2 separate regions of the Homo sapiens genome follow, and region 1 is linked to region 2. Evidence: promoter capture Hi-C in 16 types of primary human blood cells and fetal thymus (Javierre and others, 2016). All regions are on one chromosome and are shown on one strand. The core of a region is centred on a gene start or on the middle of the fragment in contact, and the rest is flanking DNA. Distances in the headings are between cores, read along the strand shown.

The links. The method cuts DNA at HindIII sites, captures the fragments that hold promoters and counts their contacts. A CHiCAGO score of 5 or more calls a contact.
Region 1: a contact is called between a fragment that was not itself captured here and the fragment with the promoter of FZD4 in region 2, in 1 of 17 cell types (erythroblasts). The highest score is 5.7, in erythroblasts.

The regions. Positions count from the first base shown.
Region 1 is chr11:87,191,852-87,194,551 of GRCh38, forward strand. All of the region lies in intron 5 of TMEM135 (transmembrane protein 135), which reads left to right. Among named protein-coding and RNA genes, the nearest start is that of TMEM135, 160 kb to the left of the region's middle. The HindIII fragment of the contact is 938 bases long and covers 809-1,746 here.
Region 2 is chr11:86,954,098-86,956,797 of GRCh38, forward strand. It overlaps FZD4 (frizzled class receptor 4), which reads right to left and starts at 1,298. Exons shown (of 2, transcript NM_012193.4): 1 at 704-1,298. The coding sequence starts at 988. FZD4-DT (FZD4 divergent transcript) reads left to right here and starts at 1,524. Exons shown (of 3, transcript NR_038905.1): 1 at 1,524-1,615. RefSeq lists silencers at 976-1,025, 1,156-1,525, 1,876-2,025. The HindIII fragment of the contact is 4,830 bases long and covers 1-2,700 here.

The DNA of each region.
Region 1 (2,700 bases), core at 28-2,527, 240 kb after region 2:
TTAAAGTAGCATTGGGAGTTTATACTTTTAAAAAGTATGCTAGCATTCTCCTGAGAAGTCATCTGGACGTGGGGCATTTTTTTGAGAGCTCTATTACTGGTTTTTCTATTTCTTTTGTTTCTTTTCTTTTCTTTTCTTTTTTTTTTTTTTTTTTCGAGATGGAGTCTTGCTCCAGGCTGGAGTGCAGTGGCGCGATCTGGGCTTACTGCAACCTCCACCTCCTGGGATCAAGCGATCCCCCTGCCTCAGCCTCCCGAGTAGCTGGGACTACAGGCATGTGCCACCGTGCCCAGCTAATTTTTTTTTTTTTTTGTATTTTAGTAGAGACGGGGTTTTACCATGTTGGCCAGGATGGTGTCGATCTCCTAACTTCGTGATCCGCCCAACTTGGCCTCCCAAAGTGCTGGGATTACAGGCATGAGCCACTTCTATTTCTTTTATAATTGATTTATGTAGATGTCTGTCTTTCTTAAGGCCATTTCTGGTACCAATTTCAGTATTTTTTAGGTTAAATTTTAAAGACAAATTTATATTCAGAAGATTGTTTCTTTTTTTTGCTGTAAGTCAATAGGAATAAAATGAATTACGTATTTATGTATGTTATATAAAGGCAAACATCAGAAGTTTATCAGTTCTTTAAAGAGAAGTAAACTTGTTTTACCCATGTTTGTGTTTTAACTTGTTTTTGAAGGCAATTAGGTAAATATGAGTGAATGTAAGAGTTTTCAAAAAACCGCCTATGTTCTTTTGAAATGTGTGTGCTACTTGAAGATATCAGCTATTATTTTATTTATAAATAAGAGAAATAAGCTTTATTCCATGTAATTTGATAAAACAATTTGAATTTTTGTTTCTAGATCTATTACTGTTTATAAAGGCTGGTACAAATTCATTTTTAATAAAACCAGTTTACATATTTATAAGAATGTGATTGTATGTGTGGGTGAGCCGTGTATACTGCTTTTAATAAATATTTTGGTTTGCCGGGCATGGTGGCTCACGCCTGTAATTCCAGCACTTTCAGTGGCAAAGGTGGGCAGATCACTTGAGATCAGGAGTTCAAGGCCAGCCTGGCCAACATGGGAAAACCCCGTCTCTACTAAAAATATAAAAAATACCCAGGCCTGGTGGCACCCACCTGTAGTCCAAGCTACTTGGGAGGCTGAGGCAGGAGAATCACTTGAACCTGGGAGGCAAAGGTTGCAGTGAGCTGAGATTGCACCACTGCACTCCAGCCTGGGTGACTCCATCTCAAAAAAAAAAATTGTCATTTTTTGTGTATTCATTTCTTTTTTCATCATATATAATAGGCCATCATTAAGTTAAGACTGAGTGATACACAGCAGTGGAGTGGAGACAACAAGGTACCTGCTCTTGAGGAGCTTGTGTCTAGCAGATTCTAAGTGGGGGTGTAGTGGTGGTGAGATCTGATTCAAGAAATATTTAGGAGATACTTGAAAATTATAAGACAAATTTATCAAATCACTTAATCTAGAGTTTTCATATAGATTAAGATACAGATTGTTATTTAGTTTAGCCTCTGCTAATTTTTATCCATTTTCCTTGTAATCTGCAAAATTTTCAGGTTCTTCTGTTTTATTTTCCCATTTATTTTTCCCAAGAGCTAAATATTGATGAGACTCCAGATATGAAATTACTTTAATTTGGTAGTGAGAATTGAAAATCACTGTTTTTGGTGGGGGGATAACTGTTAATTTCTTCTAAGTACCCAGGGAATAATTGTTAAGCTTTTGATTTTGTGGCTTATGTAATTAAGAATATCTGACTTCTCTTTTCAATGTGTAATCAGAAATAAAGAATTAAGAACTCAGTTAGGTTTTTTAAATTTTTTCTTTAGTTGGTTCAGATTTAAGTCTTGAATTGTTCACTTAAAGACCATATATATTCTTATATATTATATTATATATTATATAAACATATATATTTGTATGTATATATGAAGTCATACATTATACTTGTTTTGAATTTTTTAATAGGCCTATGATCATGCTAGGATACAGTAGATACACAATACATTTATTTAATTTGTGTGCATTGAAGTATTGCTGTGGACTGTGATAAAGAATTTTTGTGGTAAGCCATAGGCTTGTTATCTTTGCTTTTTTCACTTACTAGCAGAGAAGATTAATGTAGTAATGTTCATGACATTCATGTTTATTCTTTAAAATCTTCATAAAATGTTTTGAATCAGTTAAACACATTTAAAAGAGTTTGTTCCTGTGTGAATTTTAAGCCTTTTAATGGATTTTACTTCCATTTCATTTAATGAAAAAGAAACTGTGGCTCCACACAAAAGACAACATATTTTCTGCACAAGTTAAAAAAAAATTGGTAAATGTAGATCTTTGTTGACTGAAGTGCTGGGAAAGCTGCTGTTTCTTGCACGTATTCTTAAAATCAACAAAATACCTCCACAAGACAACTGGCAGCTGTGGTTGAACTTAAAAAGCACTCTTACTTATGCTAAAGTTTGCAGTATTTTAGTCCAGCTAACTGTATACTATTCTGCAAATGAAAAAATCTCAAATCGTTTAGTGGGCAAAGACTTTTGAAATTCTCTTGTACTATCCTGTGTCAGATCTTTACTACTATTTACTTGTACAGTATAGTTTATTCTACATTTTATAGTTCCACCTTCTTAAAGAATAATAATACCTGTGTATGTGTGTGTGTGTTGTG
Region 2 (2,700 bases), core at 48-2,547:
CACCCTGTATATGCAAATTCTTATTACTGTGGAATAAACATTTTCTCTATCATTAGATATGCTTTACATTTTTTAATGACTGCAAAAAAATTTCTTCCAATATACCAACCACCTTCCTGCAGCTTCTTCTCACCCTCCAAGCATTAAACGTGCCTTCAACTGTGAGGATAAGAAAGAACTCAAGCCAACCCAACCACTCCTTCATGCATGACCTCTAAAACGCTGCGGGACGTCGTGAGAAGGGGCTATTCAGCAGAAAAAGGTGCAGTAGTGTTTCATTTAATAACACCCCAAAAATAGTGGGGAGAAGGAAGTTCGGTGAAGGATGGTCTCCTTATCACTCCCTCCAAGTCTTAGCTGCAGCTGGCTCCCTCCCACTCGCCCACCGAGCAGTGGCGGCCAGAATCCTTGGCAGAGATAACCCTCAGCTCCACTGGGGTTAGGGGTCTGGGCCAGACATGGGTGGGCAAGAGAGAAAAACGGAAGGGCGGGGTGTAAGAGTGGGTTCTTTCCCAGGCCAGATGACTTACACAACGTTTTGGCTTCCAGTCCCTGAGAAAGTGGGGGTGGGGATGGAAATCACTTTTCCAGGAGAGCTGTCTCCTTCGGGCTAGGATGATCAACTTGGCATGGGCTCTGCAAAGTTAGTTTGGAGCGTCCCTCCCCAAGGGGTCCCGCCAGGGGTGGGGGTGGGGGCGCCCACCTGCAGCTGGCTGGAGCAGCCGTACTGGATGAGCGGTGTGAAAGTTGTCAGCTGCAGCTCGGCGTCCGTCTGCAGCTCGTGCCCAACCAGGTTGGGCATCTTGGTCACGTTGTAGCCGAGGTTCTGGCACATGGAGATGCGGATGGGGTCGCAGCGCCGCTCTTCCTCGTCCCCGAAGCCCCGCGCCGGCCCCAGGAGCAGCAGCAACTGCAGGAGCAACCCCAGACTGAGACCGACGCCCCCGGGCGCCCCCGGGACGCTCGGCCCTGCGCCCCGCCAGGCCATGGCCAGCATCGGGGGTAGCAGCGGCAGCGGCTGGGGCTGCTCTGGCAGACACCCCCAGTTTGCACGGGGGCGCCGGCTGCCCGCGCTGCTCCCAGCTCCCGGGACGGGAGTGTGATGCGGCGACGAGGGGGCAGCGGCCGGCTCTCCAGCAGCTGCGCGCGACTGTGTGGGATTTTAGACGTCCCGGGCCGAGGCCGAGGGACAGGCTGCGAGGGTCATGGCTGCAGGCGGCGAGCCCACAAGCCGGCGCCGGCCGCGTCCGTTCGGCGTCTCCGCGAGGCCAGCCAGCAGCCAGCGCTGCGCAGCTCTCACCGCCGGAGCCCTGCGCGGCGCTGGAGGCTCGCGGCGCGGCGGCGGGGCGGGACGGACAGCGGGCCTCTCCAATGGCCGGGCGCGGTGGGCAGCTAGGGGCGAGGCGGCGGGGCGGGGCCGCTCTCCCGCAGGAGGAGTCAGGCCCCCGCCCTCCGGCCCCCTCCTCCGGCCGCCCCTCCCTCCCTCCCTCCCCTAGCGCCCCGCCCCGCCCGCCTCCCGGCTCTTGCTTTCCTCCCACCCGGATCTAGGCGCGCAGGGGCCAAGCAGGGACGCAGCCCAGTGGCTCCAGCCACGCCGTCCTGCCCCCTTCTGCAGGTGAGAAGTGCGCCCTGTTCCATCTGCCCCCTTTCCTTCCTGTCTCCTTTCAGCTGTAACCTAGGCCGGTGGCCACCTCCCCGTCAGGCAGAGAAACGTACACAAAGAATTGGGGATTTGGATTTACACCGATTGTGGCTTTCAGTCCCGGTTGTGTGACCTTGAGCAAATTGCTCAACCCCTCGGCGTCAGTCTCCTCTGTAAAGTCACTTGGGAGGATTAGAGATAAAGTGTAGAAGGCTTAGCATGGTGCCTGGTACTGCGTGAGTCCACAGCTATTTTCACTCCGGACCAGCGGCGATCGGGGCCCGGCCTCTCCCCGCCCCCAGACTCGCCCGACCTGCGCAGGGAGCCGCCCACCTCCAGCCGCCAGCGGGGAGGCGCCCCAGAGCTGCGGAGCTGCAGACCCGCCGACGGTCTCGCGCTCTGATTTCCTCACCGTATGAAATGAAATTCCACAGGGGGATTCGAAAGGAAATGAGACCGGGACTCTCCGTGCTTCTCGGCCCGCCGCCCTTCCTGTCTCGGGGACACGGTTTCTAAATAAGGTTGGGAGGGTGAGAGGGCGGGAGGGGAGAGGCTTGACCTGTGCACTGGGGACGAGGAAGGCGCACAACCACCGTGACTCCTCTCTCCCGGCCTCCCGGGCACCCCCTCCCCACCAGGCTGCACCCCTTTTTTTCTTTGCTTCTGCTTCGGCTCCTAGGGATCTGGGGATCATGTGACCCAGGTTTGAACCCAACTTTCCTGTCTCATTACCAGCCCCCCGCGGCTTTGTGCTGGTCCACCCTCTCTCTGCTTTCCAGTCGGCCAGTAAACTCCCAGCAGGTGGATTCCTCCACCGTTTACTTGTTGCTTGACTGTGTTGAAGCTATGGTGCCTCTCTGAGCCTCAAAGTGGCCGGCTGTAAAGTGGGGAAGTTCATATCCACCTCACACAGTTGTTCTAAGAGTTCAGTGAGATAATACCTGTAAATCATTTAGCAGTGTCTGACACATAATAAATGCTGAAGAACTTGGTGATTGGGGTGTGTGTGTGTGTGTGTGTGTGTGTGTGTGTGTGTGTATGTGTTTCCAAAACAGCTA